3 separate regions of the Homo sapiens genome follow, and regions 2 and 3 are each linked to region 1. The links are contacts of gene promoters, found by promoter capture Hi-C in blood cells and fetal thymus (Javierre and others, 2016). All regions are on one chromosome and are shown on one strand. The core of a region is centred on a gene start or on the middle of the fragment in contact, and the rest is flanking DNA. Distances in the headings are between cores, read along the strand shown.

Region 1 (4,552 bases), core at 873-3,372:
ACTGCCCTGTGGCTGGAGGTGAGACATGCTGGTGGCAATGCTGCTCTGCTATTCTTTACTACACTGAGATGTTTGGGTGGAGAGAAGCATAAATCTGGCCTACGTGCACATCCAGGCATAGTACCTTCCCTTGAACTTATCTGTGACACAGATTCTTTGCTCATATGTTTTCTTGCTGACCTTCTCCCCACTATCACCCTGTTCTCCTGCTGCATTCCCCTTGCTGAGATAGTGAAAATAGTAATCAATAAATACTGAAGGAACTCAGAGACTGGTGCCAGTGTGGGTCCTCTGGACGCTGAGCGCCGGTCCCCTGGGCCCACTGTTCTTTCTCTATACTTTGTCTCTGTGTCTTATTTCTTTTCTCAGTCTCTCATCCCACCTGATGAGAAATACCCACAGGTGTGGAGGGGCTGGCCCCCTTCACCTATAATCCCAGCATTCTGCAAGGCTGAGATGGGCAAATCACGAGGTCAGGAGTTTGAGACCAGCCTGGCCAACATGGTGAAATGCCCTCTGTACTGAAAATAGAAAAAATAGCTGGGCATAGTGGCAGCCACCTGTAATCCCAGCTACTCAGGAGGCTGAAGCAGGAGAATCACTTGCACCCAGGAGACGGAGGTTGCAGTGAGCTGAGATTGCACCACTGCACTCCAGCCCGGGCAACAGAGTGAGACTCCAGTCTCAAAAAAAAAAAAAAAAAAAAAAAAAAGTAAAAAGAAAACGCAATGGAAACAGCAGGTTCTATAAAATAAAGAATGAAAAAATAGGCTGGGCGCGGTGGCTCACGCCTGTAATCCCAGCACTTTGGGAGGCCGAGGCGGGTGGATCATGAGGTCAGGAGATGGGGATCATCTTGGCTAACACCGTGAAACCCCGTCTCTACTAAGAATACAAAAAAATTAGCTGGTTGTGGTCGCGGGCGCCTGTAGTCCCAGCTACTTAGGAGGCTAGGCAGGAGAATGGTGTGAACCCAGGAGGCGGAGCTTGCAGTGAGCCGAGATTGCACCACTGCACTCCAGCCTGGGGGACAGAGAGAGACTCCGTCTCAAAAAAAAAAAAAAAAGAAAAAGAAAAAGAAAAAATAAAGGCCTACAGAAAGAATGACTGAATGGAAGAGACAGACCATGCCATCTATCACTGGCAGGTTTAATATGGAAGAATCATGGAAAGGCTCCAGGAACATGAGGAGCGGCATACAAAAAAGCTTGACACACACACACACACACACACACACACACACACACACACATATATATATATTTTTTCTTTTTGAGATGAAGTCACGCTCTTGTCCCCCAGATTGGAGTGCAGTGGCGCAACCTCGGCTCACCGCAACCTCCGCCTCCCGGGTTCAAGCGATTCTCCTGCCTCAGCCTCCTGAGTAGCTGGGATTACAAGCGCCTGCCACCACACCCAGCTATTTTTTTGTATTTTTAGTAGAGACGGGGTTTCAGCATGTTGGCCAGGCTGGTGTCAAACTCCCGACCTCAGGTGATCCGCCCGCCTTGGCTTCCCAAAGTGCAGGGATTACAGGCGTGAACCACTGGCGCTTGGCCTTATATATATATTTTAATAGAGACAGGGTCGAGCCGGGCACAGGCCTGGGCAACAAGAGTGAAACTCTGTCTCAAAAAAAAAAAAAAAAAAAAAAAGAAAAGAAAAAAAAAGACACACGGTCTTGCTATTTCACTCAGGCTGGTCTGGAACTCTTGGACTCAAGCTATCCACCTGCCTTAGCCTCCCAAAGTGCTGGAATTACAGGCGTGAGCCACTGAGCCCGCCCAGGATAAGCTTTGGAGGAGCATCCTCTGGGGTGCGTCCCATCCCCCATCCCCGCCTTTCCAACCCGTCTGGGCACCTGAAACGCGGGCTAGGCCGGGTCCCACCTCTAAACCGCCCCCAAATATGGGCCCCACCCCTCGCCCACGGTTCCGTCCAGAGGTCCGGTTCTAAACTCATCTTTTTCTCTGAACCCGTTTCTGCATCCCGCTCCCTGAGCCAACCCCAGGCACTGTCCGGCACCCACCCAGGAGGAAACTAGAATTTCTTTGTCCTACGTGCCTGAAACTCAAGCCCTGGAGCCCCACCCGGCCGGAGGCTCGGAGCGGAAGTGACGTCAGTGTGCCACCGCCATCTTTACCGGCTGTGGCTCAGCATGGTCAGTGCCGTTTAACCTTTATTGTGGTGGAGTCCACCCCGCTGTGGTGAGTTCTACCTGCTTGGGGGTCCGGGACATACCAGCGGGGCGGCAAAGGAAGGATTGGGCGTGGTCGCCCAGGAGCCTCTCAGATCCGCCTAGTTTCACTCGCTTTTCTAGGGGCTGTCAGTCCTCCTGGTGCGGCCTCTGGCCAGTTCCGAGAGGCCGCACAGTCCGTCTGGCTGCGTCGGGAAGTGTGTTTGTTCCGCCTCCGCCGGGTGTTTTCTTGAGTACTTTCATCCGCTGTGCTCCTCTCTTGAAAAGCTTGGAAAGCAACCTTTGGGAGTTTTTTTCTTTCCGAAAGGAAAAGGATTTCTGCCCTTCTGGTGAGGTTGGCTCTGGCCCCGCATTCTCCCGCGTCTGGAACCTATCTCTTCCGGCATGTTCCTGGTGAGCAACGGCGGAAAAATGGTTTCAAGAGGGCTGTGACTTCCATTTATTTGCTAAAAAATGTCTCATCTGAGAATCTGGCGTTGTCTTGATGTCCTTTACTTTTTTTTTTTTTTTGATTTGGAGTCTTACTCTGTCGCCCACGCTGGAGTGCAGTGGCACGATGTTGGCTCACTGCAACTTTCACCTCCCGGGTTCAAGTGATTGTTAGATATGAGTTTTAAATTTCTTTTTAAAAAATCAATATGTCAGTATGTTTAATTCTTTGCCTTCTACTTTTAAACTTCTCCGTAAAGCAACCTTTTTCGATCACCTGCTCCACCCTGACTCATTCTGATTACCTGCTCCACCCAGACTTATTTCGATTACTTACTCCACCCTGACTCATTTTCCACCCTGACTCATTCCAATTTCCTGCTCTGTTATAACCATTTTCCCCAACAAACCACTCACCCTGTCACTCTCTTTAAATTAGCCAATTGGAATTAGTTTAGCCTGTGGGGTCTAACCCTAGCCATCGGGGAAGGACAAAGCGGCAGGGGCCACTTTCCTCAAGAATAAGAACCCCTTCCCCTCCCTTGTCCTGGTGTGTGCTCACCATTGCTCCATCTGTGAGGGCACACCCTTCTGTAGAAGTAAATTGCCTTGCTGAGAAAAGAAAATGTTATATTTGAGTGCTTTTTTTTTGTGGCATGAAAACTTTATAACATGATTCACCTGCCTCAGCCTCCCGAGTAGCTGGGATTCCAGGCGTGCACCACCACACCTGGCTAATTTTTTATATTTTTGGTAGAGATGGGGTTTCACCATGTTGGCCAGGCTGGTCTCGAACTCCTGACCTCAAGTGATCCACCCGCCACTTATTTTTGACACATTACATTCAGATGGAAAAAACATAGTTGTTTAGGGTGTGCCCGTTTTTGTATGTAAATATGAACGCGTGTAGACTAAGCCTTTAGTTTTTAATTTTTATTTTCTTGCAGGTTATTTTTTTTCTAATTGTTACCAGCTGCAAGCCTTTCTACTTAAAGCCAGGCCAGATGCACTGGCTCACACCTGTAATCACAGCACTTTGGGAGGCAGAGGCAGGCGGATCACCTGAGGTCAGGAGATCCAGACTAGCCTAGCCAACATGGTAAAACCCTGTCTCTACTAAAAATACAAAAATTAGCCGGGCTTGGTGGTGGGCCCCTGTAATCCCAGCTGTTGGAGATAAAAAAATAAAACGCTGGGTGCTGCAAAGTGAAACCAGCACTCAGGCAAAAGTTTTCTCAGCAACGCAATTTATTTCTATAGAAGGGTGAGTCTCGTGGATGGAGTGATGGCGAGAGTACACCAGATAAGGGAGGGGAAGGGGTTTTTATTTCTAACGCTGGGTCCCTACTTCTGTGTCTCTCCCCCGTGGGTTAGGGTCAGACCGCAGAATCTAAACTGACCCTATTGGCTATCTGTGAATATTTTCCCCAAATAAGGAAGGGTAGGGGGATGTGTGAGTCATGATGGTGGGATGTGCAGTTTCAAAGAGTGGAATAGCTGCAGAATGAGTAGCCAAGGGAACAGATGTGAGTTATTGATTAGAGCTGATGGGAAGGTTGTTTACAGTAACTAGAGGCAAGGAGGCATGGAGAACAGGAAAGTTGAGTTTGAGAACAAAGAACAAGGAAGTTTACAGGCTGAACTTTTGAAGAGAAATTCAGAGAAATATATTGTATCTTACACAGCTACTCCGGAGGCTGAGGCAAGAGAATCACTTTAACCCGGGAGGCGGAGGTTGCATTGAGCCGAGATCCCGCCACTGCCCTCCAGCCTGGGTGACAAGAGCGAAACTGTCTAAAAAAAAAAAAAAAAAAAAAAGAAAGGCAATAATACTCAACTATTCTCTTCATCTGAAGTTCTTAGGTCTGTACTTCCCCACAGTGCTTCAAAACAGAGGCCTCCAGGAACCAGGAAGAAAGAATGGAG
Region 2 (4,552 bases), core at 505-3,004, 850 kb after region 1:
TTGTATTTTTAGTAGAGACAGGTTTTTGCCATGTTGGCCAGGCTGGTCTTTAACTCCTGACCTCAAGTGGTCCGCCCACCTCAGCCTCCCAAAGTGCTGGGATTACAGGCAAGAGCCACCGCACCCAGCTGTTGATTTGATTTCTAAAGGCATATTGGCCCTCCACCAAACTTCAAAATATAAGGGCATTTGTAAAAAGGATGATTTATTAGTAACAAATTTAAAATTAAATTGACCGGCGACCAGATGTGTTTTGAGTAATGGGATTTTTTTTTTCCTAATGAGATTTGAAAACATTTGGAAGAATATTAAGCAACAACTTATAGATTGAAGGGTAGGGAACTGGTTTCCAAAAAGATTGTCCTCTGCACCTTGCCTCCTGTATTAGTCCTTTTTCACACTGCTATAAAGAACTACCTGAGAGTTTTCACACTGCTATAAATAACTCCCTGAGACTGAGTGACTTACAAAGGAAAGAAGTTTAATTGACTCAGTTCTGCATGGCGGGGGAGGCCTCAGGAAACTTACGATCATGGCAGAAAGCAAAGGGAAAGCAAGGCACGTCTTACATGGCAGCAGGAGAGAGAGAGAAGACATAAACGCCAAACTTCTAAACCATCAGATCTTGTGGGAACTTACTATCAGGAGAACAGCAAGGGGGAAGTCCGCCCCCATGATTCAGTCACCTCCTACCAGGACCCTCCTCTGACACATAGGGATTATTACAACTCGAGATGAGATTTGGGTGGGGGGACACAGAGCCAACGATATCACCTCCTAATAGGAATTAACTTTGTTTCTTAAAACTTCTCTGAAATAACAGTATGGTGATTCATATTGCAGAGAATCATGTTAAGTAATCTAGTATTAAATTGTGGGGTTTCTACTAATTGTGTGTGTGTTCACCTTTTCCATTCTAGCTTTCCTACAGCATTCTTGAAGGAATGTTTACTTATCATGCAATAGATATTATTTGAGTGCACAGTTAATGGTGACCAACCATCCTCATTTTTTCAGGACCAAGGGGTTTGCTAGGGCACAGGGCATCCAGTGTTCAAACCGGGACAATCCTTGGCAAACCAGGTCGCCTCCATGAGTCAGGTCCTAGGTCAGATGCACAGGGACCCTGGAGGACCTGAAATGGCCCCTGTCCTACATAAAGTTTACCTTCTAACAGGGAAGATAAATTTTAAACCATGAATGACAGGAGTGATGTGGGAGCTTGGCACTAGTGAACTTGATCAGAGGGAACAGGGAAGCTTTCTTGGGAAGGATATTTAGCTTGAGAGCTTAAGTTGTTACAGAACCAAACTGGGGTCTGCTCACCTGGTGGTGCAGTGAAACCAGATGTCTATATTGAGGGTTGCTACGATAGATAGAAAGGCTTTTATTGCACAGCACTAAGCAAGGAGGACCAGACATTAAATGTTCAAATCCTGGCCTCCCCAGTGGCTTTTAGGCAAGGAATTTTTTTTTTTTTGAGATGGAGTCTCACTCTGTTACCCAGGCTGGAGTACTGTGTTGCAATCTCAGCTCACTGCAACCCCCGGCCTCCCGGGTTCAAGCAGTTCTGCCGCAGCCTCCTGAGTAGCTGGGATTACAGGCGCCTACCACCATGCCCGGTTAATTTTTGTATTTTCAGTAGAGACGGGGTTTCACCATGTTGGCCCGGCTGGTCTTAATCTCCTGACTTCGTGATCCACCCGCCTCAGCCTCCCAAAGTGCTGAGATGATACAGGCATGAGCCACCACACCCGGCCTTTTTTTTTTTTTTAATGAGACAGAATCTCACTTGGTCACCCAGGCTGGAGTGCAATGGCACGATCTCAGCTCACTGCAACGTCTGCCTCCCAGGTTCAAGTGATTTTCCTGCCTCAGCCTCCCCAGTCCCTAGGATTACAGGCACATACCACCACACCTGGCAAATTTTTTGTATTTTGAGTAGAGACAGAGTTTCACCATGTTAGCCAGGTTGGCCTCAAACTCCTGACCTCAGGTGATCCGCCTGCCTAGGCCTCCCAAAGTGCTGGGATTACAGACATGAGCCACCGTGCCCGGCTAGGCAAGGATTTCTGAAGGCAATGGTAAGTTACAGAAAAGCAGAAGCTACAGGCAAAATCATAAAGCAATACATGGAGGTTACACACTGGTTTAGACTTAAAAGGGCAAGGATGTCTTGAAGCAGGAGCTTGTCATAGGTAGATTCAAAGATTTTTCTGATTTGTAATTGGTTAAAGAAAAGAAGCTTTGTTTAAAAATTTAGAGTCAGTAGGAAAATGTTAACTGGCTGGGAGAAGTGACTTTCTCCAAGCCCCTCAAGAAGAAACTTAGCACAAAGAACGCTGAAGCTCAGCCTTCATGTCCCGCTTATCTGGGGTCTCTGAGCCAGCAGCTCCATTTGGTGGGGTCCTCAGTGGGAGTCCCAGCCTCTGAAAGGCAACTCAGGGACGCATGTTAAGATGTTATCTTTAGTTTCCATGGGGAAAGCGAACATCTCTGGAGCCTTAACTTCTTTGGCTGTTGTTTTAGGTTACTATTACCTTCCTGTTTAACAAGTTCCATATTTACTTTTGGGGCTAGCTGGATGCTCGGAATTTCCCTTAAAGGAACTTCAGGATTTTCCTTTATTTTCCCACTTGGGGTTCACAGGCCCCTGAAAAAGGGAATTGCTGCTCCATCTCCAAGTTGGGGTCAGATGTAGCTAGTCATAGGGCTCGACTAGAGTGAGGGGACAGGGTTATGTCCAAGAGAGCACTGCCGTCGAAGAAGCTGTGTAAGGAAAGGCCCTGCAGCAGGAGAGAGGCTGCCACGCTCCCTGCACTGGGAACACAGGGATGGCTGAAGCCGAGACAAGAACAGGGAAAGAAGCTGGGCGCAGTGGCTCACACCTGTAATCCCAGCACTTTAGGAGACCAAGGTGGGCTGATCACCTGATGTCAGAAGTTCAAGACCAGCCTGGCCAACATGGTGAAACCCCGTCTCTACTAAAAATACGAAAATTAGCTGGGTGTGGTGGTGCACACCTGTAGTCCCAGCTGCTCGGGAGGCTGAGACAAGAGAATTGCTTGAACCTGGGAGGCTGAGGTTGCAGTGAGCAGAGATTGCACCACTGCATTCAGCCTGGGTGTAAGAGTGAGACTCCTCAAAAAAAAAAAAAAAAAAAAAAAAGAATAGGGAAAGAAGTGTGACCAAGACCAAGATCAAGAGGGAGGCAGAACCATACTAGGCCTCACTTCAGACTCTGTTCTCAGGCCAGTGGGAAGACACTAAAGAGTTGTGGGCCAGAGGGTGATGCAATTTGCATGTAGTGTAAGCATGCAGATAACAAGGACTTCAGGATTCAGAAGGAAGACATTTAAGAGGCAAAAGAGGGGGTGTTTGGAGGTAGTTTAGGAATCAGATGATTGCTCCCAAAAAAAATAAAATTTATTTTCTCAGCCATACTAGTCACATTTCAAGTATTAGAGCAGAATTATAGAACATTTCCATCATCACCAGAAGTTGTGTTGGGCAGCTGACATAGAGTGGCCCATCTGCTGTGACCATCCTCCAGCACTGTATCCAGGGCAGGGCAGGTGTCACAGGATCTGTAAACTGAAGAGACCCCTCCTGTCCTAGTGGGAAATTTCTGCTTCCAGACAGCCTTGAATAGGGACTTGGGGCCTGAAAATGTCCCAGGTACCTTCTCTACTTGTTTTTTTCTTGGAGGCCCAGTGAGCTGGCTGGAGGCCAACCCCCCCTCACTCCCCAGCTCAGTGACTGGAACTACTGTGTGCCTACCTGCACATTAGGTCTGTTACGGGGAAAAAGGAGATACTTCCCCCTGTAGAGGGTAGGGAAGTTCTGCAGCAGTTGCCTGGGTCTGCTGAACTCACCCAAAGGGAAGGTGTGATGTGAAAGGCATGTTAGTTTCCTATTGATGCTATAACAAACTACCACAAATTCAGGGACTTAAAACAACACACATTTATCCTCTTGCCTTGCTGGAGGTCAGAAATCCTCAATAAGCTGGAAGGCCTGCATTCCCTCTAGAGCAGGAGTCCCCAGCCCCTGGGCCACGGACCAGTGCTTATAAACAGGGCTGCACAGCAAGATGTGAGTGGCAGGTGAGCGAAGCTTCATCTGTATTTACAGCCACTCCTCATTGCTCGCATTACCACCTGAGCTCCACCTCCTGGCCGATCAGTGGCAGCATTCGATTCTCATAGGAGCCCAAACCCTATTGTGAACTTTGCATGTGAGGGATCTGGATTGCACACTCCTTAGGAGAATCTAATTCCTGATGATCTGTTGCTGTCTCCCATCACCCCCAGATGGGACCATCTAGTTGCAGGAAAACAAGCTCAGGGCTCCCACTGACTCTATATTATGGTGAGTCGTATAATTATTTCATTATATATTACTGTGTAATATAATAGAAATAAAGTGCAGAATAAATGTAATGTGCTTATAAAACATCATCCTGAAACCATTCCCTGCCCAGCCCCACTGCCGCCCCGTGCTCCATGGAAAAATTGTCTTCCACGAAACCAGTCCCTGGTACCAGAAAGGT
Region 3 (4,552 bases), core at 802-3,301, 520 kb after region 1:
AGTAAATGCACTTCAGTCTTAGAGTCTCACGAAAATGTGGTGTCTATTTTCTTTGAGAATCATTCTCTATTCTCGGCTCCTCTACAACTGTCTCCTGGTTCTTTCCCTGCTTCTCTGGATCATCTGGACCATCCAGAGGTCCTCTTTCACCACTAAAGGCTGATTCTGCTCAAGAGCCATTCTTTACCCATTCCTTCGCATGCCTCATGCTTTGCCCAGGTAATCACATCCACTCATTTAACCTGAATCCCCATCTCTAACACTTAGGTTCCAGTAGGAACTCGAGATCTTATTCCCTTTGCCTAGGAAAAGCCACCAGTAAGACATCTCATACAAAAACCAGTTCCAGCCAGGTGCAGTGGCTCCCACCTGTAATCCCAGCACTTTGGGAGACCAAGGTGGGTGGATCACCTGAGGTCGAGAGTTCGAGACCAGCCTGACCAACATGGAGAAACCCCGTCTCTACTAAAAATACAAAGAATTAGCTGGGCATGGTGGTGCATGCCTGTAATCCCAGCTACTCGGGAGGCTGAGGCAGGAGAATCGCTTGAACCCGGGAGGCGGAGGTTGAGGTAAGCTGAGATCGTGCCATCACACTCTAGCCTGGGTGAGAGAGCGAGACTCAGTCTCAAACAAACAAACAAACAAACAAACAAACAAAAACAACTACCTTGACACACTAAACCTAGGGAAAGCAAAAGTGAAGAAATAAAGATTAAAGCAGAGACAAATGAAATAGAGAATAGGAGAATTAATGAAAACAAAAGTTGGTTCTTTCAAAAAGATCAACAAAGGTGACAAAACTACAGCTAGAATTACTAACAAAAAAAGATGCAAGTAACTAAAATCATCAGTGGAAGTGGGACATTACTACCGACCTTACGGAAATTCAAAGGGCTGTAAGAGAATGCCATGAACAATTATGCACCAACACATTAGATCATCTACACTAGCAGTCCCCACCCAATTTGGCATCAGAGACTGGTGTCATGGAAGACAATTTTTCCATGGATGGTGAGGTGAGGGGGGATGGTTTTGGGATGACTTGAGTGCATTACATTTATTGTGCACTTTATTTCTATTATTATTACATTGTAATATATGGTAAAATAATTATACAACTCACCATAATATAGAATTAGTGGAAGCCCTGAGAGTGTTTTCCTGAAACTAGATGGTCCCATCTGGAGGTGATGGGAGACACTGACAGATCATCAGGCATTAGATTTTCATAAGGAGTGTGCAATCTAGATCCCTTGCATGTGCAGTGCACAATAGGGTCTGCGCCCCTATGAGAATCTAATGCTGCTGATGATCTGACAGGAGGTGGAGTTCAGGGGTAATGTGAGTGATGGGGAGCCGCTGTAAATACAGATGAAGCTTCACTCACTTGCCCTCCGCTCACCTCCTGCGGCAGGGCCTTGTTCCTAAAAGGCCAGGGACCGGTACCTGTCTGTGGCCCAGGGCTTGGGGATCAATGCTCTAGATGTATCAAATTCCTTGAAACATACCCAAACAGGCTCTAGAAGAAAAAGAAAATTGAGAGACCTATAACAAGAGACTGAGGCAGTCATCAAAAGCCATTAAATAAAAAGTCCAGGACCAGCTGGGCACGGTGGCTCACGCCTGTAATCCCAGCATTTTGGGAGGCCGAGGCGGGTGGATCAGGAGGTCAGGAGATCGAGACCATCCTGGCTAACACGGTAAAACCCCATCTCTACTAAAAATACAAAAAATTAGCCAGGCGTGGTGATGAGTGCCTGTAGTCCCAGCTACTCGGGAGGCTGAGGCAGGAGAATGGTGTGAACCTGGGAGGCGGAGCTTGCAGTGAGCCGAGATTGCGCCACTGCACTCCAGCCTGGGCGACAGAGCAAGACTCCGTCTCAAAAAAAAAAAAAAAAAGTCCAGGACCAAGGGGCTTCACTGGTGAACCCTACCAAACATTTAGAATTAACATCAAGGACATTATCAAGAAAGTGAATGAGACACAGAATGGTGGAAAATATTTGCAAATCATGTATGTGATAGGGATTTAATATCATTATAAACTCAACAACAAAGACAACCCAGTAAAAAAGTGGGCAGGAGACTTGAACAGAACAGACATTTCTCCAAATTTACAGAAATGAACTGTAAACACATGAAAAGATGATTAACAACATCAGTCATTAAGGAAATAACATCAAAACCACAATACATTGGTGAGGTATGGTGGCCCACACCTCGGGAGGGGATTTAATTTGCTTTGTATGAACATGCCTCCTCTCTCTGGCTTCCACCGCGACTCTCATGACAGCACTGATGTAAGAACCGTGACGCTGCTACTTTAACATCTGACTCAGATCAATAATCAATATTACCACTTTTAAACATTACCAGGGTTATAACAATCTTTTTCAACATCAATTAGTATTTCTGCTATTGGAATTGTTTTAGATATTCAGAAACATTTCAAAACAATAATATAGGAAGTGTGTTTTAACGTATAAACTCTGCCTTGGGGATTCATTATTCAACACCAAATTTGATCTTGGGCCAACTCAAAGATGCATGACGCTTTCATTCTTTTTACAAAGCCCTTTTCTAGTCATTGTGCCTTTGGGTTCTGACATTAAGTCACTGCTGAGGAAGGGGAGAGAGGGTGACAGAGGCTCAGTTCCTGAGGCACAGTATCTCCATCCTCACCTACCATTCATTCATTCATGCTCAACTAACAAGCTTCTGCAGGTCCCATTCCACCTTTCCCCACCAACATTAATGCCAATTCTACAAATAACGACATGTGTAGTGTTTACAAGGTATGAGACATTCTCCTGAGTCTTTCCAGGGCCACTCCTATTTAATCCTCACAACCTCCCGGAATTATTCTCAAGTACCCAGAGAATAAGGCACCAAGGGTCCGAGACACTTGGTCAAGGTCATAGGTGGAAGTTGTGAGCCCAGCTGACGTGACTGCGGAGCCACATCTTGTTGCCTCTCAAAGTGACCTATGTCACCTGTACTGTCCCCTATGTGGGAACTCCTTGACACTACATCTTGACCCTTCCTTTGCCTGACCTCCTGACACATCATCTTGCTCACTATGAATCTATCTCCCTCTTCCTGGGAATGCCACTGCTCTTGCAGCCATAGCCCACTCATCCCAGTCTGTGCTCACATCTCTGGTTGCTCTTTTGAAGACTCTGGCTTGAGATCCCTCCTCTGCCCAGCCCCTAAAGGTCAGGGTTCCCCTGGGCCCCTCTCCCCCATCTCCCACAGGTCCACATTGTGAAACACCCCCACCATTTGGAGGTGCTGACACCCAGGTTCTGATTGCACTTCTGTGAAGGTCTCCCTGTCCCTGAGGCCTCAGTAGACTCCCCTTTAATGCAAGCCCACAGTTCTGCTCATTCCCCTCCCAAGAGTCAGTTCATCAAAACTCAGTTTTCTCATCTGGAAACTGAAGACTTTAACACTGGGTTATGTATGGAACTCTATAGGCTCAGTAAACAAACATTCACTCTAAAATGCCATTATCATTAAAATAAAATGACCACTGACGATTTCACAATTACTTAACAGAATTGTTCATTTATAGTGGGTGCCACTCTCCGCTCCCTGGCACCTGCCCCACCCAGAATGACTCAGAGTGAGTGGCAGCCAGGTGGCTACTTAGTATCCCTACTGCAACAGCCAACAGGATCCCACATTAAACACCTACAACTGTGCTGCCACCAGCCTCCCCACGTTGATGGCAGCTCCAGCCTCCCAGGGGCTCAAGTCAAAAGCCTTGCTCGTCATCACCTTCAACTCTCCTCTTTCTTTTCCATAAACCACACCTGCATCACCAGCAAATCCTGCCAGCCTTAACTTTAAAACTTAATACAAAAATCTGGTTGCTTCTCACCACCTACACTGCTACTGCCTTGGCATAAGGCATCGCTTCTCTTCTAGAACATTCCAACTGCTTCCTAACTGGTCTCCCAGCTGCTGTCCCTGACTTCCCTTAGCTTCCATGACAGCCGTAACTTTATGGGTAAAATGAAGATCACACCGCTCCTCTGTTCAAGATCCTCTGATGGTGTCCCATCTCACTCAGACCAAGGGCCCAGGTCCCTGCCGCCTCACCCACAACTCGCTCTGCCACTGGTCCCTCACCCAAGCCACAGAAGCCTCACTGCTGTGCATCAGGCCCCGCCAGCCATGCTCCCACCTCAGGGTCTGTGCACCTGCTGCTCCTCTGCTTGAAATGTTTCCCCCACATTCTCAGTGTGCCTGGCCCCCTCTCATCCTTCAGATCTTTATTCAACTTTACCTGTCCTGATCTGGCATTCACTGGCCACTCTTTTCTTTTCTTTTGAGATGGAGTCTCGCTCTGTCACCCAGGCTGGAGTGCAGTAGTGTGATCTCAGCTCACTGCAACCTGCGCCTCCCGGGTTCAAGTGATTCTCCCGCCTCAGGCTCCCAAGTAGCTGGGACTATAGGTGTGCCACTGTGTCCGGCTAATTTTTGTACTTTTAGTAGAGACAGGGTTTCACCATGTTGGCCAGGCTGGTCCTGAGCTCCTGACCTC

The links. The method cuts DNA at HindIII sites, captures the fragments that hold promoters and counts their contacts. A CHiCAGO score of 5 or more calls a contact.
Region 2: a contact is called between a fragment that was not itself captured here and the fragment with the promoter of ZNF562 in region 1, in 4 of 17 cell types (M1 macrophages, M0 macrophages, naive CD4 T cells and 1 more). The highest score is 7.6, in M1 macrophages.
Region 3: a fragment that was not itself captured here is called in contact with the fragment with the promoter of ZNF562 in region 1 in 6 of 17 cell types (fetal thymus, megakaryocytes, naive CD4 T cells and 3 more); the score reaches 6.5 in fetal thymus.

Annotation. Positions count from the first base shown.
Region 1 is chr19:9,672,670-9,677,221 of GRCh38, reverse strand. ZNF562 (zinc finger protein 562) reads left to right here and starts at 2,122. Exons shown (of 6, transcript NM_001130031.2): 1 at 2,122-2,207. RefSeq lists enhancers at 916-1,915, 2,178-2,237, 1,916-2,415, 1,954-3,153. The HindIII fragment of the contact is 670 bases long and covers 1,797-2,466 here.
Region 2 is chr19:8,826,188-8,830,739 of GRCh38, reverse strand. The region is part of intron 2 of ZNF558 (zinc finger protein 558); the gene reads left to right. Among named protein-coding and RNA genes, the nearest start is that of ZNF558, 3.8 kb to the left of the region's middle. The HindIII fragment of the contact is 986 bases long and covers 1,262-2,247 here.
Region 3 is chr19:9,149,258-9,153,809 of GRCh38, reverse strand. The region is part of intron 1 of ZNF317 (zinc finger protein 317); the gene reads right to left. Among named protein-coding and RNA genes, the nearest start is that of ZNF317, 11 kb to the right of the region's middle. The HindIII fragment of the contact is 1,338 bases long and covers 1,383-2,720 here.